Regions from separate parts of the Homo sapiens genome. Here all the other regions are linked to region 1. The links are contacts of gene promoters, found by promoter capture Hi-C in blood cells and fetal thymus (Javierre and others, 2016). All regions are on one chromosome and are shown on one strand. The core of a region is centred on a gene start or on the middle of the fragment in contact, and the rest is flanking DNA. Distances in the headings are between cores, read along the strand shown. Region 1 holds the start of SASH3 (SAM and SH3 domain containing 3). Region 2 overlaps XIAP (X-linked inhibitor of apoptosis). Region 3 overlaps STAG2 (STAG2 cohesin complex component). Region 4 holds the start of INTS6L (integrator complex subunit 6 like).

The links. The method cuts DNA at HindIII sites, captures the fragments that hold promoters and counts their contacts. A CHiCAGO score of 5 or more calls a contact.
Region 2: a contact is called between a fragment that was not itself captured here and the fragment with the promoter of SASH3 in region 1, in 1 of 17 cell types (M0 macrophages). The highest score is 9.5, in M0 macrophages.
Region 3: a fragment that was not itself captured here is called in contact with the fragment with the promoter of SASH3 in region 1 in 1 of 17 cell types (non-activated CD4 T cells); the score reaches 6.0 in non-activated CD4 T cells.
Region 4: a contact is called between the fragment with the promoter of INTS6L here and the fragment with the promoter of SASH3 in region 1, in 1 of 17 cell types (total B cells). The highest score is 5.7, in total B cells.

The regions. Positions count from the first base shown.
Region 1 is chrX:129,776,913-129,782,486 of GRCh38, forward strand. It overlaps SASH3 (SAM and SH3 domain containing 3), which reads left to right and starts at 3,037. Exons shown (of 8, transcript NM_018990.4): 1 at 3,037-3,242. The coding sequence starts at 3,186. It overlaps LOC124905215 (a long non-coding RNA gene), which reads right to left. Exons shown (of 2, transcript XR_007068328.1): 1 at 5,551-5,574; 2 at 1,663-3,367. RefSeq lists enhancers at 1-7, 2,788-2,947, 3,198-3,277, 3,328-3,387, 4,655-4,834 and 1 more. The HindIII fragment of the contact is 655 bases long and covers 2,926-3,580 here.
Region 2 is chrX:123,860,419-123,865,992 of GRCh38, forward strand. All of the region lies in intron 1 of XIAP (X-linked inhibitor of apoptosis), which reads left to right. Among named protein-coding and RNA genes, the nearest start is that of XIAP, 3.2 kb to the left of the region's middle. RefSeq lists an enhancer at 1-382. The HindIII fragment of the contact is 1,936 bases long and covers 1,517-3,452 here.
Region 3 is chrX:123,963,362-123,968,935 of GRCh38, forward strand. The region is part of intron 1 of STAG2 (STAG2 cohesin complex component); the gene reads left to right. Among named protein-coding and RNA genes, the nearest start is that of STAG2, 4.4 kb to the left of the region's middle. The HindIII fragment of the contact is 7,160 bases long and covers 1-5,574 here.
Region 4 is chrX:135,518,182-135,523,755 of GRCh38, forward strand. INTS6L (integrator complex subunit 6 like) reads left to right here and starts at 2,479. Exons shown (of 18, transcript NM_001351601.3): 1 at 2,479-2,922; 2 at 3,060-3,137. The coding sequence starts at 2,812. INTS6L-AS1 (INTS6L antisense RNA 1) reads right to left here and starts at 2,493. Exons shown (of 2, transcript NR_046740.1): 1 at 2,386-2,493; 2 at 1,902-2,191. RefSeq lists enhancers at 2,633-2,712, 2,743-2,802 and silencers at 3,053-3,322, 3,383-3,582. The HindIII fragment of the contact is 2,771 bases long and covers 1,919-4,689 here.

The DNA.
Region 1 (5,574 bases), core at 1,787-4,286:
ATTATCAAGTTTAAGGTGACCTTGTTCCCTGAACTACTGACTCGTATCACTTCCTTAGCTGAGAGCTCTGCGTACCTCAAACAACATAACCTGTAAAATGCAAATATGTTACCCAGAAGGGAAAATCTATTAAACACATGTTTAAGGGTCATTAGCCAGCAAGGACCTGGCCTATTGGGATTCAGCCAGGGCAATCTGTTGGAAGAGAAAAGCTGGGGGAAGGCAAGTCCCGATGGGGGGTCCTGGACACCCCGCCTCCACTGGCCCCGGTCCCCAGGTGGCGGGGAGGAGGTGTTCCTGAACAGAGGAGACAGATCTGAAAAGGAGAACGAAGGAAGCCGTTGAAAACACTTGCTCCCTTCTGTCCTGGGAGCTGGTCACCTCTCCATATTTCTCTCCAAGGCACCCTCACCTCCCTCTCGCTGCCTTTTCCCAAGCCTCGCCAGCCCTGTGCCCTGGTTTGCTGGCCGCCTTTGAAGGTTCTGCGGTTAGTGTGTGATCTTCTGTCGCTGCCGGCGCTGAGCAAACAGGAAGCGGGCACATCCTGCGAGGCGGCCAGGGACGCAGCCGCTGCGCAGGCCCGGAAGATTCTGCGACCTGCTTCCTCCCTCACGGCTCTGGCTCCAGGTGCCCCAGGCCACTACAGCGGCGTCCCCAATCCCAGAACCCTCTGGGGCTGCCCTCCTGCTCCTGGTCACGCAGAGCCCCAAAGGCCCGATGGGTCCCCTACACGGCTGCCAGGCTACTGTATATGCCGAAAAGCCTTAACCAGTTACCGCGCTTGCTAGTGACCCTGGGCCGCCTGGGAGGGACTTTCAGGGTGGAAAACACAGGCCAGTGGGAAGGAGATCTGGGGTGTGGAATCTTTTCATGAGTCTGCCTGGCCGACTGAGTAGGCCAAAGAATGTATGGTTTCAGCTTAGGGAAGAAAGATCTTATCTTCCCTGAGCTCACCCTGAAGGTTGGATGGTCAGAGGGCATAAAGCAGAATCGGAGAGGAAGTCACGAGAACATCTTGGGAACAGGGGTGGACAAGCCTAGTATTTCACAAGTACCACAGAATTGAAAGCCTTAAAAATGTGCATACCTTTGACCCCAGCAATTCCTCTTCTGGATATTTCCCCTACAGAAAAAAAACTATGGATGTGAATATTTACCATAAGTATGTTCAATGAATAATTTAAAAATTTAAGCCAACCCAAGTTCATCAGCAAGGGCTTGGTGAAATAAGCACGGCACATCCACACAATGGGATGTTCCACAGCCGTTATAAATTACGTAGTTGAAGACTATTTCATAGCATGAGACAATCTTGATACTGTGTTCAGCTGGACGTAGTGGCTCACGCCTGTAATCCCAGCACTTTGGGAGGATGAGGCAAAGAGGTCACTTGAGACCAGGAGTTCAAGACCAGCCTGGGCAACATGGTGAAACCCTGTCTCTACAAAAAATACAAAAATTAACCAGGGTGGTGGTACGCACCTATAGTCCCAGCTACTTGGGAGGCAGAGGCACAAGAATTGCTTGAACTCAGGAGGTGGAGGTTGCAGTGAGCCGAGATCACGCCACTGCACTCCAGCCTGGGAGACAGAGTGAGAGACTCCATCTCGAAAAAAAAACAAAAAAGATACTGTGTTTAGTGTGAAAAGCAGACACCAATAGTGTGAATTATGACCTTTTTTAATTAAAAAATTTTAAACAGCTTTATTGAGGTATAATGGAGCTACAATAAACTGCACATATTTGAAGTATACAATTTGATACGTTTTGACATGTGTATTCCCCCATGAAATCATCACCACAGTCAAGATAGTGAACATATTCATCACTCCTAAAAGCTTCCTGTTACCCTGTGTGATGTCTCCCTTCCCTTCTCTCCCCTCCCCTTCTCCCCAAACCAATTATCTGTTTTCTGAGCAGTATGATTTTTGTAAAAAGAAAAAAAATGTTTATAGACAGAGAGTAGATAGATGCTTAAAACAGTGTAGAGGACAATGATGGGAAATTTTGAAATTTTTTTTGTTTATGTGTTTGTGAAATTGTATGACAAATACAAGTTGCTTTTGTAATACCAAGAAGTTATTAAAGTTATTAAAATCTGCCACAGACAACCCACAAATTGAATATACTGCATAGGTGTTTGATAAATGCCTGTTGGATACTTGCTAGAGGTGTGGAGTTGGCTGTAAGTGCTTTTCAGCTGTGGTGGTGATAAATATACTCATGATGGCTGAGGGGTACTGACTGGAGGGGTGACTGCTCTAGTGATGATGGCTTTAGGTGTACTGATGGCTGTAGGAGTGATGGCTGCAGGGCTGATGGCTGCACGGATGTGATGATGGTTGTAGGAGAGATGACTGTAGGGACGATGGTTATAGGGGTGAGAGGGTCATGAGTGCGGTTGGCTGTAATGTCCAGAAGGGTGACAGCTGTAAGGATGATGGCTGGAAGGGTGATAGCAGCAATGGTGATGACTGTAGAGGTGATGGCTGAAGGATGTCAACTGTAGAGGTGATTACCATAGTGACAATGGCTATAGGTGTGCTGATGGCAGCGGGGATGGCTGCAGGCCTGATGGCTGTAGGGGTGATGGCTGTATGGTGATGGCTATTGATAGGAGTGATGGTAGCAGTGGTGATGGTCACAGGGGTGATGGTAGTGGTAGTGATGGCAGTGACGACCTTGAAGACGTGAGTTGACCGGGAGCATTGATCCAACAGGCAGCCAGATGGTCCAACTTCTGGTTTCTGGATTCTGGTCAGTGAGATAAAGGGCTTGGGTACGCCATATAATGTCGAGCTGATTGTCCACCTCTAGGAAGATGGAGCAGAAGGACTGATGATGATCGACATGAGACAACAAGGTAGGGACTTTCTCTGACTGTTCAACCCAAGAGCCGTCTGCATCAGAATCTCTGGAGACTGAAGCTTGGACTTCCTTCCTCCCTAGGGGCCGGCAGGGGCTGCGATTGCTGTAAGAGTAGGTCACGTGGCAGGGCTTCCTGTATGCTGCTGCTGCCGGGTGTCCATGGCCCGCACCCCCAAGCTGCCACTGCAGCAGTCAGAGTGGCAGCTGAAGGCTCGGTTCATGCCGTGCCCCCGGGCAGTTCTGGTGAGGCTAAGCAAGAGGCCTCTGCATCTTGACACCTAGGAGAGCAGGGACGGAGTCTCCCAGGGTGGAGGACCATGCTGCGCCGCAAGCCCTCCAATGCCAGTGAGAAGGAGCCCACTCAGAAGAAAAAGGTGAGGAGCATTTTGGGAACTCACATCTTCCTTTCCTCTGCTTGCTCGACCCATCCCTTCCAAGACTCTTGGAAGTGGGAAGAGCCAAAGGCCATATGTTGAGTCTGTAGGTGAGGGCCACTCACCTAGAAGGCAACGGGACAGGGACCCAAAGGTTAACAGAAGTACAGAAGAGATGTTTAAAATTCTGGAGCAACAGAGTTACAGAATAGATCCTTAGAAATCTAGAGTCATGCAATTCAACCCTAGAAGAATGGGAAAAAAGATCTAAAATTAGGGGCCAGAATCTTAGACTAGAATTTGAGAATAACAAAATACAATGCTTAAGCTGAACCCTAAGCTTGTACTTAACTATCTCTCCTCTACGCTGGTCCTGCTGCCACTTCTGCCCCGGCCACGGCCTCTCAGGAGCCATCTCACTCAAAGGGCCCTGCTGGGCTGCCCAGCTTGGAGCCATGATGCTCACAGGACTGCCACCCCCTCCTCCACTTTGGCCATGGCCCAGACCCTGCCCACTTGGCTCAGCTCTGTGGTAGCTCCCAGGCCCTACCCGAGATGGAGCCAACCTGGAGATGGGGGCCTGAGGCCATTCCAGTCTTGGGGGAAAAGGCATCCGGAAGTGCAGTGGGATGCAGGGGGCATACAGGTTCTTCCTGGGTGGGGAATGAGAAATTAAGTTGAGGTGGTGAGTAGGAGTGAAGGCTGAGGAGGGAGGATTTTAAAGGCCAGGAGGAAAAACAGCTGTCATGGATGGCTGAGGTGTTCATCCCCCTGGGGCAGAGACCGGACTGGAAGAATCCTTGAAGGCTGTGCCAGATCTAGGATTTTGTGGTTGAATTTGAGGATTTCCAGATTTCTTTGGTTGGGTTTGAGGATTTCTAGACCTAATTCTTTAATTCAATTGAAGGATTCTCCCAGACAATCAGCAAGTATATCCTACACATCCAATGGGATGCTAGGACAGTCCCAAAGCAGGCCTGAACTAGGTCCAAGAGGCCCAGGCTATCCCCCGCCAATTTTCCCTGGAACTCAGCCCAGGTGCCCTATGGTGGATCCCCCTTGTCAGGGGAGTAGCTCAGAGATGGAGGCCAAGGCAGCTGAAAGACTGAGACTCGGGGCAGTGGGGTGTGCATCCTGCCCCAGCTCTCAGGTCCTGGGGTGGCTGCCACTTCCGGCTGTATTCTCCCCACCCCAGCTGCTTCTCTAAGGTTGCAGTGGTGGTGGGCGGGGGAGGGGGGAGGTTCATGAATCTTCACACGGGCTCTGTCATCCCCGTCCAAACCCTGCAGGGTGCTAGGCCCAGCAGGACTGCCATTGGCTGCCACTCCTAAGAGAGCAGGGCCACTTCCCCTTGCTCTCTGGCTGGTGGGGGTGGGAAACAGAGATTGCTCTATAGACACTGCTAGGCCTCAAACCACAGGGGCGCTGAGCTGGAGGAAAGTGTGAGAAAGAGCTGACACTTTGACACTGGGACCCTGTGCCACATCAGGAAGACGTACCTAGGGGCACACAGAAGCCAGAAGTCCCCTTTTTCTTTCCCAGCTTCAATTACCCAGATTCTGTGTTCGGCAGGCAAGTGGGCCCCTGGGATTTCCCCAGGTCTCTCCCAGGAGAAGGGGTCCTTTCGGGGAGAGTAGTCCAGGCAAACCCCACCCCAACCCCTGCCAGAGCCGGTGCCAGCCTCCAGAGCTGGGATGAGCTTGCCTCCACACACTCTGCTAGCCCCAGACTATGGAAATGTCCCCCAGAAGCCAAGCTTCCAGAAGGTACAGAGCATCTTCCCCAGGCCCAGAGGCAGCGGGCTGGCTGAATCACTGCTAGTCCCTTCTTCTCAGAGGCTGAGATGACGTGGTGGAGAGGAAAGCACAAAGGCAAGAGAGGCCTCTTTCTCCTGCCCCTGCTTCTCCTCTTGGGCCTGCCAATGGAGAATGTGCCAGACAGGGGGCAAGAAAGCTGAGCTGGAATCCTACCACGCTCTAGCTGTAGGACCTTGGACAGCTCATTGACTTTCTTTGGGCCTCAGTTTCCTCGCCTCTGAAAAGGAGGATAACTCCTAATCTGCCCCCCTCAAGAGGTTGTACAGATCACCCAAAAGAATAGATGTGAGAGTACCCTGTCACAAGTGTGCACGTGCATACCACACAAGGGGGTGCCTGCTGTAGGCATGGGTGGGGATAGGGAGACACTGCAAAGAAGAATGAGCCATGCCCCCAGTGCTGGCACAGAGAACACAAGACTTAATAGTACTAAGAGCCACCACAGAGTGAGAGCTCATGGGATGCCAGGCACGGTGCTGTGCATCTCTTACCTTGTTCACTCCCCACGACAACCT
Region 2 (5,574 bases), core at 1,235-3,734, 5.9 Mb before region 1:
CCAGCCCATCAGGGGTGGCCCGGCCCCGGCTGCTTGCCCGGGTTCCTCGGACTGCCGACGGCAGGCGTGGGTGGGTGGGTGACTTCAGGCCTGCAGGATTGCCTTCCTAAACCCTGTGACACCTAAGGTAAATTGAGGCAAAGAACTTTTTAAAAAAATATGATCAAAGGGATTTCCTCCCCATGTGATAACCTGTGGCTTGTGTGGAGCAGGGTGGAGTGTGTCTGGAGAGGGCATATGAAACTGAAAGAATAAGGGCCAAAGAGCTTCCGGAAGAGGAAATTAGCTGGTGATTCTTTCCAATCTGCTTTCCCAGTCACCTTTCCGGCATGTTCTGTAAAACAAAATGTAATTTGACTTTGTTTCATTATTTTAACTCCATAACACTTAAATTGTTTTCTTTTCGGGGAGGGGAGTGTTTATTCTCAAACTAAGCAGTAGCCCTCTCCACCTTCGAAAAAGGAACAACGTCAATCCAACCTTTGTTAAAAAACTCCAACCTATCAGATTTTAATAATCTAGTAGTTTGCTTTCAAATATAATTATGTCGCTAGTTCTGTCACAACTATACTTTGATAGTTTAATGACTCACAGAAATTTGTAAGACTGGAGGTTGCAGTAGTGTTTCTTTCTTATTCTTTTTTTTCCCCATAATATTTATTATAGTCAATGAACAGTGTTACAGACGGCCATCTTAGAATTATAACATTTTAGAGTTGGAAGGGATCTTAGTCAAACCCTGTCCTTTTACAAAACCAGAAACCACGGCTTAGGAAGATTTCATAGCTTGCTAAAGGCTATCCAACTAGTTAGATTAGAACCCATGTTATCTGGCTTCTTGCCCACCACTCTTACTGCGCAATTGCTCCATATCGCCTCCAAGCATGAAAATTAAATGTATTCAATTCAACACACATTTCTGAAGAGTATAATACTTTGTACCAGTGACTGTGGTACCACTTTCTATGTATTTCAATGTATTTAACATGCTTATGGAGTACTTGAGATTCCCCCCCACCCCCACATTCAAGAAGTGGCAACAGTTTAGATTTATACACACACCTTCACATGTACGTGTGTATACTTGCATTTGCTCAGATAGTTTCTTGAAGGATACACAATAAAAATGTTAATAGTAATGACTTATGGAGGAGAAGAGAGATAGAAGACTTTTTACTTTGTACTTCACATGATCTAATGTACGGTTTGAATTTGTTATAAATTCGTATTGATTTCATAATTGAAAAGTTTTAAAGTTCACACCTTCCCACACAAATATATATATCAACATAAGCAAGTATATACCAATGGTATGTACACATTTATGTGCATATATGTATTTATACATATCAGTGGTTTGTACTGTAAAATCCGGTATGATTCAGGTCAACTCAGCTGACAAAGCAGACCTCATTATTGGATACTCATGTTTCGTTTTCTTGTATTGCTCTCTCCTAATGTAAGATAGTAAAAATAATATGTTACTAGTCGTCATATATTTTTAGAAATTGTCCTAAGCTTCTTGATTATCAAATAATGTAGCAAACTTTTAACACATTTAAAATATCAAATCTGGGTACTTGCTTCAGTGGTAGCACATATACTAAAATTCGAACAATTCAAAGAAGATTAGCATGGTGTTTTTTTTTATCAATTAATTAATTAATTTTTTTTTTTGAGACGGAGTCTTACTCTGTCATCCAGGCTGGAGTGCAGTGGCCCTATCTTGACTCACTGCAGCCTCCGCCTCCTGGGTTCAAGCTACTCAGCCTCCCCAGTAGCTAGGACTACAGGCATGCGCCACCACGCCTGGCTAATTTTTGTATTTTTAGTAGACACCGGGTTTCCCCATGTTGGCCAGGCTGATCTCGAACTCCTGACCTCAGGTGATGCACCCGCCTCGGCCTCCCAAAGTGCTGGGATTAAAGGTATGAGCCACCTCGCCTGGCCAGTCCATTTTTTTTTTTTTTGAGACAGAGTTTCGCTTTTGTTTCCCAGGCTGGAGTGCAATGGCACCATCTCAGCTCACTGCAACCTCCGCCTCCCAGGTTCAAGTGATTCTTCTGCCTCAGCCTCCCAAGTAGCTGGGATTACAGGTGCCCACCACCACACCTGGCTAATTAGGTCCCTTTTTTTTAATAAACCACAAGAAAAATTTGACACCTGACGCTGTGGCTCATGTCTGTAATCCCAGCACTTTGGGACGCCAAGGCGGGCAGATCACCTGAGGTCAGGAGTTGGAGTCCAGACTGGCCAACATGGTGAAACCCCACCTCTACTAAAAAAACTAGCCGGGTGTGGTGGCGTGCACCTGTAGTACCAGCTACATGGGAGGCTGAAGCAGGAGAACTGCTTGAACCCAGGAGGCAGAGGCTGCAGTGAGCCGAGATTGCACCACTGTACTCCAGCCTGGGTGACAACAGTGCACCTTTGTCCCGAAAAAAAAAAAAATTGACACAAGGAAAATATCTGCAGCCTGGGCAACATGGCGCAGCCCTCTCTCTAATAAAAATACAAAAATTAGCCGGGCGTGCTGGCTTGTGCCTGTAGTCCTAGCTACTTTGGGGAGCTGAGGCAGGAGGATCACCTGAGCCTTGGGAGGTGGAGGCTGCAGTGAGCCATGATTGGGCCACTGTACTCCAGCCTGGGCGAAAGAGTGAGACCCTGTCTCAAACAAAACAAAGAAACAAAAATCTGAATTGTAGACTCTTTGTAGATAAGAACATATTTTTTAAAAAAGTTAAGACTAGGGCCAAGTGCGGTGGCTTTCACCTGTAATCCCAGCACTTTGGGAGGCTGAGGTGGGCGGATCACCTGAGGTCAGGAGTTCAAGACCAGCCTGGCTAACATGGTGAAACCCCATCTCTACTAAAAATACAAAAATTAGCTGGGTGTGGCGGTACACCCCTGTAGTCCCAGCTACTTGGGAGGCTGAGGCAGGAGAACCACTTGAGCCCATGAGGCGGAGGTTGCCGTGAGCTGAGAACGCAACATTCAACTCCAGCCTGGGCCACAGAGTGAGACTCCACCTCAAAAACAAATAAAAAGTTAAGACTAAAACAGTTTATAGTGATTAGGAGTTCAGCTGTCTAGTTTTGTTTTTGTTTTGAGATGGAGTTTCACTCTTGTTGCCCAGGCTGGAGTGCAATGGTGCGATCTCGGCTCACCTCAACCTCTGCCTCCCAGGTTCAAGCAGTTTCCTGCCTCAGCCTCCCGAGTAGCTGGGATTACAGGCATGCGCCACCACGCCCGGCTAATTTTGTATTTTCAGTGGAGACGGGGTTTCTCCATGTTGGTCAGGCTGGTCTCAAACTCCCGACCTCAGGTGAAAAAGTGCTGGGACCTCAGGTGAAAAAGTGAGTCACTGCACCTGGCCCAGCTGTCTCGTTTTTAGAAATAGATTAAGACTCAAAAAAAATATTGCCCACCGTAATATATCTGATTATTAGCAAAGCTTGGACTAGAGTCTAGGTTCTAGTCTAGTGGCCCTTGTACTATACCTGTAATTTTATTGCTTTCTAGTGCATTGGATGATTCCAACTAGGCTGACAAAGTAATAATATCTAAAGGTTAGCCAGGACCATTTCAATAGTTAAGAATTATTATTTTTTTCTTTGGTTTTTATTTTATTTTGTCTTCCTTTTTTTTTTCATTTTCAGGAAGTGAGCAGTTTCTCAAAATTATTATAATTAATGGACCAGCTAATTTGTATAGTGCTTAAAATATTTTAGTAACATAAATTTTACTAAATAAATTTACTAATTTAGTAAATAAATGTTCTCCTTTTATTTCATTGTAAACATTAATTTCTTTAGTAAATCCTGTATTTATATTGTAAATGTTTAGCGATAAAATAATGATATTTCACTGTTTTTGTTTGGTCTAATATTTAAGTCTGGTAGGTAGTATTAGCAGAGAGCAAAACCTACAGTTTATGAAATAAACATTCATTGAGCACTTAATGTGTTCCAGGCATTCATTGTAGTATGTGGTAGGATTCCAAGGATAAATATGGCAAAACAAATGCCTTTCTTCTGTTTTTTTTTTTTTTTTTTTTTTTTTTGAGACGACGGAGTCTGGCTCTGTTGCCCAGGCTGGAGTGCAGTAGCGCGATCTTGGCTCACTGCAGGCACTGCCTCCCGGCTTCACGCCATTCTCCTGCCTCAGCCTCTCAAGTAGCTGGGACTACAGGCACCCGCCACCACACCCGGCTTAGAGTGTGTGTGTGTGTGTGTGTGTGTGTGTGTGTGTGTGTGTGTGTGTTTTAGTAAAGACAGGGTGTCACCGTGTGTGTGTGTGTTTTAGTAAAGACAGGGTTTCACCATGTTAGCCAGGATGGTCGCATTCTCGTGTGTGTGTGTGTGTGTGTGTGTGTGTGTGTGTGTGTGTGTGTGTGTGTTTTAGTAAAGACAGGGTTTCACCGTGTGTGTGTGTGTGTGTGTTTTAGTAAAGACAGGGTTTCACCATGTTAGCCAGGATGGTCGCATTCTCCTGACCTCGTGATCTGCCTGCGTTGGCCTCCTAAAGTGCTGGGATTACAGGCGCGAGCCATCACACCAGGCCGCCTTTCTTCTTTTTTTTTTTTTTTTGCTTTTTTATGTTCGTCTGTTTTTATTTTGCTTTTGTGTGTTTGTTTGTTTTTCCATTGTTCTTTTGAGGCTGGGAGATTATCATGAGCTGTCAATTCTCAAGCTTTATCTCTGTGAGATAATCTGGTAATAGTTTTATAAAATGTAACCTGTTAGCACTATTAAAGGACATTGTGTGAGTAGATATGAAGAGACAAACAGTAGTGATAAGATAAAAAATACTTTAGAATTTAACAAATACTGTTTCTGTATCTTAGAGGTCATGTGCTACAGTGTTTGGAAAGAGCCCTACGTTGGGTACCACAGTACAGGTTATTGACTTTGTTTCCAATTAGCTGTGGGATTGTGCATGTCAATGACCCCATCTTTCTTTACATGTTCACATTTTTGATATGTTATTTTAGGTGTTGAATTCAAAACATAAAAAGGGTATTTTAAGGCCGGGCGTGGTGGCTCACGCCTGTAATCCCAGCACTTTGGGAGACTGAGGCGGGCGGATCACGAGGTCAGGAGATCTAGACCATCCTGGCACCCCTCTCTGCTAAAAAAAAAAAAAAATACAAAAAATTAGCTGGGCGTGGTGGCAGGCGCCTGTAGTCCCAGCTACTTGGGAGGCTGAGGCAGGAGAATGGTGTGAACCCGGGAGGCGGACCTTGCAGTGAGCCGAGATTGCGCCACTGCACTCCAGCCTGAGCTACAGAGCGAGACTCCGACTCAAAAAAAATAAAAGGGTATTTTGAATATTTTATTTTATTTATTTGTTTTTGAGACATTGTCTTGCTGTGTCACCCAGGCTGGAGTTCAGTGCATGATCCCAGCTCACTGCAACCTCCACCTCCTGGGTTCAAGTAATTCTGGTGACTCAGCCTCCCAAGTAGCTGGGATTACAGGCGTGTGCTACCACACCTGGCTAATTTTTTTTTTTTTGGTATCTCTTTTTTTCCCCTCGGAGACAGAGTCTTGCTCTGTCGCCCAGAGCTGGAGT
Region 3 (5,574 bases), core at 1,943-4,442, 5.8 Mb before region 1:
CTGGGAAGTGGATGCATTTGTTTAATGACATATAATTCAGGTAGTTTAGGCTTGCTCTCATATACTTTCCGATGAACAGTGGGGTTAATTTTCAACATTTTCAACCACTTAACGTTAAAATGCCTGGTTTTCTTTCTACATTGATATCAATCTATAATTAGGGATCAGAAGGACCAGTTTAAGGTATATAAGTGTTCAGCAGTTTTTCAAGTGGTTGAATTGCAGTTTTATGACACATTATGTTAAATAGTCGATTTTTTTTTTTCATTTTGAACTAAGGTGCCACGTTAAGTAAGTTAATTGCAGATGTTTAAGTTCGTTTTCATCACATTTCCCTATTTGTCTTTTTAGGTATAATTTTAAATATGCCCTTTGGGTTTATGGACTTCATTAAAATTCTTAAAGATGGTTATATCTTTGTGTTTAACTGAATTCTTAAATTTATCACCTACCAAAGAATTGTGTAAGGCGTAAGGCGGCTGTATAGTTACATTGTTGGATTTTGACTTAACATGCTAGTTTTTGATACTTTTGCTATCTTTGGGTAGAAGTGTACTTAGAGAACATAGTATCTTCCTCTTAATTCTTTTTGAAGATAATAATGAGAGGAGGGAGTGGGTAGGAGGTAGGTGTGAAGCAGAAGTGGCCTTGAGTTGATTATTGTAGCTGGATGAATACAGAAGCGCTCATTGTTACTATTATTCTCTCTACTTTTGTGCGTGCTGTTAAACATTTCCATAGTTTAAGATAAACTTTTTTTGCAGTAGAATTTCCAGATTGTCTTACAGTCTTGGGGGTAATGACTTAAGTTTATATTTACATGTCAAAATTACTTGCATAGGAAATTTAGCCTTGTGTAAGTGATTACACAATGCTTGGCAAAACTTTCAAAAAAAAAAAAACGTTTAAACGGGAACTAGTATAAAACAGGCAACATAAATACTTATAAATTGGTTGAACTTTAAATGTTTATAACTTAGCCTGAATGTGCTCTACTTTTAGTTTCCTTTTTAATTCTTTGAAAACAGGAAAATTCCATTTGCAATTTTTGTAAATTCTGCTTAGTGTCTATTTCATCAAGTTGGAGTTACAGTGAGTCAGTATGAAAGGGATTTACTATTAATAGGAGGGGCTTTGGCAGTTGCAGTAAGTGACAGTGGAAGGGATTGAGGTACCATAGGGAGCATTCCTGGTAGAAAGATCTAGGTAGCTGAATTCAGTTTCAGAATTTGGTGTTTAATGACTAGGTAGAGAAGTGGGTTGGAAAAGAAATGTACTTATTAGCTATTCCTTCCCACTGTGAAGTAACTATAGTATTCTAAGGTGTATCAGAGACTGGCAGAGAGGGTGGAGTGGGTTTTTTTTTTTTTAACTGATAAGAAAATGAGTGTTTACATTTAAAATGGTTTAAATCACCTCATGCCCCAAGGATCTGGTGCTATAACTAGTTAGAAGTTGATATGTAAAATATTTCAATATTGTCTGTTAACATTCTGACCATTACCCGTAAACAGTAAAAATGTGTTGCAATGACAATCCTTGGTCTCCCTTAATTAGTGCATTTGTGAACTGCTCCTAAATTCTATTAAGGTAAGTGCCTTTTTTTTTTTTTTTTTTGGCAGTTCTATACTGTTCAGTGTCAGGTTTATTTTTTTCCCCCAGGAGATACATTTTAAAAATACATGTCACAGTTCCGAAAGGAATCCAAAACAATGGATATTTAATTTATAGCAAAATTTCACCCCAATCTGGGAACAGACATTTTGTAACTGTTACCATTAGTCTGTTTGTGTATTTCATATTCAGGATTTTAGCTTTAGAAGGATGTTAAAGGAAAATAGGTGACATATTTCAAATTTTTATTCATATACAAATATTCTTAGTAGATGGTAAGGATTGTGGCATCAGATTTATTTTATTGTGGTGAGGCAATAGCTAAACTACTACACTAACACATGATGAGTTTGGTAACTTTCAAGTATATTTAGTTAGGATTTTTTAAAGCCCAAATGCTCAAATAAGATTTTCATGAAATCAAATTCTACATTTCTTTTTCAACTGTATTGACTTCTGCGGTCACCTGAGGACTTATGAATTAAAGTGAATGGGATGGGCTTGGGGGACAGGCTAAGGCTCAGATCTATTCCTTTGGGAATTTAGGGTTAGATGTGAAAATATGCAGTTTAGTAATGCTTAATATTGTGCATGTTTAACTGATACCACCCACAGTCATATGTGGGAAGGTAGTAAACAGAGAATAGCATAATCTTTCTGCTTCGGGTTCTTTATAATAGATGGCAGACTTCAGTTTTTGATGCTGCAAGTTGACTTTTGAACTTAAACCAAAATCGGCGGGGCACAGTGGCTCACACCTGTAATACCAACACTTTGGGAGGCTGAGAGGCTGAAGTGGGGGGATCACTTGAGCCCAAGGAGTTCAAGACCAGCCTGGGCAACATAGGGAGACCCCATGTTTATAGATAATTTAAAAATTAGGTGTGGTGGTGCACACCTGTGGTCCCAGCTATTTGGGAGGCTGAGGCAGGAGGATCACCTGAGCCCGGTACATAGAGGCTGCAGTAAGCCACGATTGCGCCACTGCACCCAGCCTGGGCAACAGAGCAAGACCCTGTCTCAAAAAAAAATTAAAAATAAACTAAAATGTACAGTTTACTATATAATGGAGTACCGTTTTGGGAGTTGGGGAGAATAGCGAGGGAGAGGGATAGTTTCAGGTATGGGCATCAGTATATACTGAAGTGTGATTGTTGGAGAGTAAGGAAGGAACTTTAAAGACATAGGCTATTTTAAAAGTTTTTGGCTGGGCACCATGGCTCACGCCTGTAATCCTAGCACTTTGGAAGGCTGAGGCAGGCGGATCATGAGGTCAGGAGTTCAAGACCAGCCTGGCCAACATGGTGAAACCCCCATCTCTACTAAAAATACTAAAATTAGCTGGACGTGGTGGTGCGCGTCTGTAGTCCCAGCTGCTTGGGAGGCTGAGGCAGGAGAATCGCTTGAACCTGGGAGGCAGAGGTTGCAGTGAGCTGAGATCGCGCCACTGCACTGTAGCCTGGGCGACAGCGAGACTCCGTTTAAAAAAAAAAAAAGTTCTTAACATTTTTCTGCATTGGCTACATGTTCAGGACTTTAGTTCGTGTTTCAGTACTGTCCCTGTGTAATAATTCTTTATGTTTCTGGGTATCATAAATGATGGTTATTGCGTGTTCTGATTGGCAAAGATATATGATAAAGCAAAATTATCAGTTTGATTTTTCAGTCTCTTGAGTTGACTGCTTTACGTTTAATTTACCCAAATTTTATATTTCTTCAGTGTAAGTGGTGTTGCTTAGTGGAGTCTAATTTTTGTTGATGTGCCTTTTAAAAATCTATGCATCTTCAGCAGCTGTGGTAATCTGCTACCTGAATTGTGTTTTTAATGTGTGCTTGCTATAGATCTTTGATACTCACCAGTAGACACCAAGAAGTCTTTACATATGGTTATTGTAGTAAGTCAAGAAGAGATTTATTTATTTTTTGAGACGGAGTTTTGCTCTTGTTGCCCAGGCTGGAGTGCAGTGGCATGATCTTGGGCTCCCTGCAACCTTTGCCTCCCGGGTTCAAGTGATTCTCCTGCCTCAACCTCCCAGTAGCTGGGATTACAGGTGTCCGCTACCACGCCCAGCTAATTTTTTGTGTTTTTAGTAGAGACAGAGTTTCACCATGTTGGTCAGGGTGGTCTCAAACTCCTGACCTCAGGTGATCCACCCACCACAGCCTCCCAAAGTGCTGGGATTACAGGCGGAGCCACCGTGCCTGGCCAAGAAGAGATTATTGAAATTGTTTTCCATTCCTTCTGCCGAAGAAAGAGAGGATGAATAATGTCAATGGTGTATTTTTTTTTTTTTTTTTTTTTTTTTTGAGACGGAGTTTTGCTCTTGTTGCCCAGGCTAGAGTGCAATGGTGCGATCTTGGCTCACTGCAACCTCCACCTACTGGGTTCAAGCGATTCTCCTGCCTCGGCCTCCCGAGTAGCTGGGATTACAGGCATGTGCCACCACACCGGGCTAATTTTGTACTTTTAGTAGAGACGGGGTTTTTTCCATGTTGGTCAGGCTGGTCTCGAACTCCCGACCTCAGGTGATCTGCCTGCCTCGGCCTTCCAAAGTTCTGGGATTACAGGCGTGAGCCACTGCGCCCAGCTGGCCTATTCTTTTTTATTACAGTCATGCATTGCTTAACGGCGGGCATACCTTCTGAGAAATGCATCTTTAGGTGATTTTGTTGTGTGAGCATCATACAGTGTACCTACACACACCTAGATGGAATAGCCTACTATACATCTATGCCATATGGTATGACCTGTTGCTCCTAGGCTACAATCCTGTACAGCATGTTGCTGTACTGAATATCGTAGGCAGTTATAATACAGTGGTAAGTATTTGTGTTTGAAAACAAAAAAGATACAATAAAAATACGGTATAAAAGAAAAAATAGTACACCTCTATAGGGCAGCTCCCTTATAATCTTATGGGACCACTGTCTTTTTTTTTTTTTTAGATGGAGTCTCCCTCTGTCGCTCAGGCTGGGGTGCAGTGGCGAGATCTTGGCTCACTGCAACCTCTGCCTCCTGAGTTCAAGCGATTCTCCTGCCTTAGCCTCTCAAGTAGCTGGGATTACAGATGCATGCCACCATACCCGGCTAATCTTTGTATTTTTGGTAGAGACGGGCTTTCACCATATTGGTCAGGCTGGTCTCAAACGCCTGACCTCGTGATCCGCCTGCCTCAGCCTCCCCAAGTGCTGGGATTACAGGCATGAGCCACTACACCCAGCTGGGACCACCGTCTTATATGCAGTCTGTTGTGGACTAAAATGTCATTATATGGCACATGACTGTATTTTAATTGGGAAATACATTACTAGGCTTGATGAGACAAACTAGGGAGATTTCAGTAAGCTCTGCCTAACTTAAGGGACCATTCAAAGGTAAAATTTCTTTGTAAGAAATAAGTTGGCTGGGCGTGGTGACTCACCCTCTGAATCCCAGCACTTTGGTAGGCCAAGGTGGGAAGATCTGTTGAGCCCAGGAGTTTGAGACCATCCTGGGCAACGTAGGGAGACCCCATCTCTACAAAAAAATTTAACAATTAGCTGGGTATGGTTGTGCAGCCTGTGGCCCCAGTTACTGGGGAGGCTGAGGTGGGAGGATCACTTGAGCCCCAGCAGGTTGAGCCTGCAGTGAGCCATGATCATGCCTTTGCACTTCAGCCTGGGCAAAAGAGTAAGACCCTATCTCAAAAAGTTGTTTAAATTCTGTTGTACATCGTTCAAGGGGGGTGAAAAACAAGTCCTATTTACATTTTTGCAAGAATAACTTTTGAAACCTGAAGCATTCTAAGAAACTTAATTTAACTGCTATTTAAGTTCCTACTGAATGCCAGTAATGCTTTAATCTTCTGTTTAATCTTCTCAACCACTTTGCAGGATAGGTTGTCCTCATCATTTTACACGTGGGGAAATTGACGCTCTCAGAGAGTAAATGCCTTGTCTCAAGTCACATGGATTCACACT
Region 4 (5,574 bases), core at 1,229-3,728, 5.7 Mb after region 1:
GGTGTTACATCCTGTATAATATTCTTTCCTTGAGTGTGGGTGGGACCTGTGACTTGCTTCTAGTTGAGATTATCTACATTACATAAGGCTCCATCTTGGAGTAAGAGATTTCTCTGCTGGCCCTGAAGTAGCAGCTATGTTGTGAACAGCCAATGGAGAAAGCCATATGGCAGAGACCTGCAACAGAAGGTGGACCTGAAGGTGGCCTCTGGTCACCAGCAACAGCCCCAAGGAAATGAATTCTGCCAGAAATCTGAATGAGCCTGGAAGCCAGTTCTTTCCCAGGTGAACCTCCAGATGAAAACAGCCTGGCTGACACGTTGACTGCAGACTTATGAGACTAAGTAGAGAACCCAGGTAAACTTAGACCTCTGACTCATGGAAACTGTGAGATAGTAAATGCTTGTGTTGTTTTAAGCCACTAAATTTGTAATAATTTGTTAAACAGCAGTAGAAAACTAACACACTGCCCCCAACAGTCCTATATTTTTTGTACCCTAGCCCATGTAGGCATTGCCCTTCTACACTGACATTTGTATCGGAATGGAAATGGGGGCTTCTAGTATCTTTTTCATCCTTATTTCTTCATTAATTCCCTACTTTCCACCAGAATGGCCTGAAATGCACCATACATAGTACTATCTTTGGCTGAGTTTTTGTTCATATCATTCCTTCCAACCCAGATTCCCTCTCTTCCCTTTTTGTGCCTTGTTCGTGAAATCCTATGAATTTCTAGACTGGACCATTGTTTCCATAGCACTTTTTAACTTGCATCCTTGTTTGTCCCTGATTCATATACTGCCATATGACTTCTTTTAAAATCGTATTTCTCTGAGAATGTTATTGAATGTGCATATATAATATATGAAACATATACACAGAACATACATATATATATAGAGAGAGAGAGAGAGAGAGAGAGTGTATATAAAATATATAAAATACTTTTTTGAGATGTTATCTCATTCTGTTGCCCAGGCTGGAGTGCAGTGGTGTGATCTCAGTTCACTGCAACCTCCGTCTCCTGGGTTGAAGTGATTCTCCTGCCTCAGCCTCCCAAGTAGCTGGGACTACAGGCGCCTGCTCCCATGCCCGGCTAATTTTTGTATTTTTAGTAGAGACGGGGGTTTCACCATGTTGGCCAGGCTGGTCTCAAACTCCTGCCCTCAAATGATCCACCCACCTCGGCCTCCCAAAGTGCTGGAATTACAGGCATGAGCCACTGCGCCTGGCCAAAATATATAAAATATTATGTATGTATATGTCATCATCTCTCCTCAATGAAACTGCAAACTCATTGAAGTCCTGGATTCCACATTGTCAATAGTAATTGCCAGGAATACACAAGTCCAATTTTTAAAATTGTGTCATATGAAGTAGTCAATCAAGTGTGGTTGGCCACTTACTGAGTCTCTTCACAGAGCCAGACCTGAGAGTATCCGTAATTGTTACCCTAACCTCAGGGAGCTGCATTTTCCTCTACTGAAAATTGAATACAATGCCATCTGCCATAATTAATTCAAAGATTAAACAAGGCTACCGTGGGTGCCTGGCTCTTCATAGGCACTCAATAAATGTGAGTTGAGAGCCTGCCCCTGTGGTCCCAGCTACTTGAGAGGCTGAGATGGGAGGATCGCTTAAGCCCAGGAGCTGGACGCTGCAGGCAGCTATGATGGGGCCACTGCACTCCAGCCTGGGCGATCAAGCGAGATCCTCTTTATTTATTTATAAAAATAAATAAATAAATAAATATGTGAGTTGAATCACAATCTAGGTTTGCAAACCTCCATGTGTAAAGGCTGCGCAGAGGGAACAGTGGTGGAATTATCACAGGCAGGCCAATGTTTCAAAGAGCTTAGTGAAACTGAAGAAGCTTGTGCATACAAAAGGCCAGTTTAGGTAACTGTAACTGTGTTTAAGCTTTAGTTTCCTTTCTAAGTAGATATATGTGGAATGCAAGGCCAGCAACCAACTCACAAATACTGATCAAGACGGGGGAGGGATCTAAAGGAATGTGAGTACGTCCTGCCAGGAAAGAAGTTTGCTGCTTCTGAAATATTTTCGTCTTCGCCACTGGCAGGATTGATCGATTGCAGTTAGCGAAGAATTTTCTGTGCAAACTGTCCAAGCATCTGCTTCTGTACTTCTGTACAACTGTTGCTCAAATTCACTCTTCTTTTCGAATCACCATCTTTGAAGAGAGACAGAAAAATCCATTTAAACCACCCGAACTAATCATTCGAACTGCTTCCAAGTCCTTTAAAGGAGAATCCTAGCGAGGGTCCGTAACACTTCCCCTTACCCTCTGCCTGGGTTCAAACTTCAACTCCCAGGGTTCGCCCAAGTCCCTCCCCTAGTCCTGTCATCTAATGAATATGCAAATACCACATAATTGGCAGCCAATGGCATGGGTTCTGGTCACATGGTGCCGATGGTAGGTGAGCAGACAGAAGTTGTCAGTGAACAGAGACGGCGCTCAGTCTGGGGCGAGCGCTCTAGTGAGCGCGGACGGATGCTTAGGCAGTAGTCCTGGCAGCGGCAGTAGTGGTGGCAGCAGAAGAGAGGAAGGGGGAGGGCCCCGAGGGCTACACACGCTCACACTTTCAAGTTCCCTTGGAGGGAGAGGAGGTGGGGCTGCAGAAAGAGGAGGCCAGGAGCGGTCCCATCCGTCCCGTCCCGTCCCGTCTCCCCCTCTTCCTCTTGCTCCTTGCTCCCCGGCTCTGCGAGAGTTGAGGGTTCAGGTGGCCGTACGCGGCAGTGAGGGCAAGAGGGCCGGGAGAGTGGGGAGCGGAGGCAGGAGTGCGGGGGAAGATGCCCATCCTGCTGTTCCTCATAGACACGTCCGCCTCTATGAACCAGCGCACTGACCTGGGCACCTCTTATTTGGACATTGCCAAAGGCGCTGTGGAGTTATTCTTGAAGGTAAAGGGAGGGGAGGGGAGAGATGGGGAGAGCTCCCGAGGGATTTCAGGGTGTGGATTGAGGTGCTTCTGTAACGTTTGTATCGCCCTCCCCCCTCCTTTCCTACGCGACCCCCTCCGTCATCCCTTGCCCCGCAGCTGCGCGCCCGGGACCCGGCCAGCCGTGGAGACAGGTACATGCTGGTCACCTACGACGAACCCCCGTACTGCATCAAGGTAAAGGGGCTACGGGTGGGGGGACAGGCGGGAAGCGGGAGCAAGTCGGCGGGGGCTGCTTACCCCCCTGCCCCCGCCTAAGGCGGTCCTGCGTCGCCCGGCGGGGCGGGCGGCGAGGGGGTGCGCAGAGGGCGGGCGGAGTGGTGCCGTCGGCGGCTTCGGAGTAGCTGTCGCGCCTGGGGTCGGGGAGAGGGGACCGGGGAGGAGCAGCCCCGGGGAGAAACCGCAGGAGGGCCGAGCTCGTGGCGCGACAACCGCAGCCGCCTCGGAACATGGCGGACATTTTGCTTTTGTATGAGCCTGCGAGAGGGAGACTGAGGGCGCTGCTGAGATGGAAAGGAGGGAGGGGAGGGAGGAGCGGGGAAGGAGGGCCCGAAACCCGGAGGGAGGCTGCGAGGCGGGCCCGCCCCTTCGAGGCGCACCGCGCGAGGGTCGCCGCGCGGGGGGCCGGACGGAGCCTGCGACTCCGCCCCGAGGTCCTGCCGGCCGGGCGCGCGGGCTTTCCCGGAGCCTGGGCTCCTCCTCTGGCCCCTCCTTCCTCCCCCGGTCTTCCTCCCCCTCCTTGGGCTCTTCGCTGCATCTCCTCCTTCTCCCCCTCTTCCTCCTGGTCCCCTCCCCTTCCTGCTGAGAGCGTGGCAGAGCCAGCCGCCGGCCTTCAAAGACTAGACAACCGCCTTTGCACTCGTTGGCCTCTCACCACCCCCGCGCAATCGGAAATCTGTCCGCGACGCCAGTCTCCCCACCCCCAGACCCGGAGAAAGTCTTTGCGTTTCTGCTCCGGAATTGGCCAGGTTCAGCCCCGCTCTCAGTTACCTTAGCTACTGTTACTGTTTCATTGGAAATTCCAGCGAAGCAACGACACGGAGGGGGACGTGCCAAGTGCGAACCCACAGGGGCAGAGCTTTTTAGGGATCCGCTCTACCTATTTACATCATAAATTAGGTTTGTGCTAGCCACGTAGGAATTAATCCAGGGACAAGAAAGAAAGGAAGGGGAGGACTCAAATGTGAGCATTTGTAATAGTCAAGTTCGATGATTTGATTCTGACCTACAGGAGAAAAGTAGGGAGGACGGTCTCTGTGGGGTAATTTATGTTCCTATGGTGAGGAGATAAAGAACTGCTGCTTTGCCTGCAGTGGCCAGATAAAATGGAATTTAAACTGTTAAATCAACCTGCATAAGAGTCCTGCTTGCATATTGAAATTTTAAAAATACTACCACAATCCTTGACGTCTTTTGTTAGGCTTTTTCTTTTTTCCTCAGAATAATCGTAATAGTGCTAGGGAGACGCAGTCTGGATGTGTTGTGATCCGTTTCTGTAGAGTGAGGTGTTTTAATGAATGGAACCTACCAAGCTGAATAGTTGGCCAAAGAGTGTTCCTTCAAGCATAAGGAAACCAAAGAGAAACTAATTTTGTAACTCGTAGCTTCGGTTAACTGTTTAATTAGTAGGTTCCCCTTAAAACTGTTCTTTTTTCGATAATTTGTTTTCAGTTTGTGATTCTATCCATTTAGAAAAGTGGAACAAGTAGACATCTTTCAAAATGCCGTAAGCTTTTTAAAAATGTCAGTTTTCCCAAAAGGATGTGATCATTTTTTTCCACATAGAAAAGGAGATGTTTATACATCCTAGGTCTGAATGTCTACACTCTTCGACTGCTAATACAGATAAGAACCGACCATTTGTAGTGTGGCCATTTGAAGACATGCTCCTTAATTCGAAGTAGTAAAAAAGATAAACCACAAAGCAGTGTGCCTTCTTTTCCTTAAAGGAACAACTTATTGGCCGGGTGCGGTGGCTCAGGCCTGTAATCCTAGCACTTTGGGAGGTCGAGATGGGCGGATTGCCTGAGCTCAGGAGTTTGAGACCAGCCTGGGCAACATGGTGAAACCCCGTCTTTACTAAAATACAAAAAAACAAAACAAAAAAAAAAACGGCCGGATGTGGTGGCGGGCGCCTGTAATCCCAGCTACGCGGGAGGCTGAGGCGTGAGAATTGCTTGAACCCGGGAGTCGGAGGTTGCAGTGAGCCAAGACCATGCCACTGCACTCCAGCCTGGGCAAGAAAGTGAAACTCTGTCGTCAAAAAAAAAAAAAAAAAAAAAAAAAGGAACAACCTATTTATCATTTTTCCATATGCCAAGAAGGATTGTTTAAAGATAGTTTTCCATCTGTAAAACTTATCAAAACAGTATTTACAGAAACTTGGGAAAGGAAATAAACCTCATTCTTAACAACCATCATTACATCTTTTAACCTAGCATTGTGATTACAGTGCACATATTACTTTGTATTCTGCTTTTTCTACCGATTTTTATCCAATGAATTATTCCAGGTCGCCACATAGCCTTCATACTTAAAATTTTTAATGGCTGTGTAATTTATCCATGCTATTTTAAAGGCTCCAGATAGTTCTATAGAACGGACAGGAAAAGTT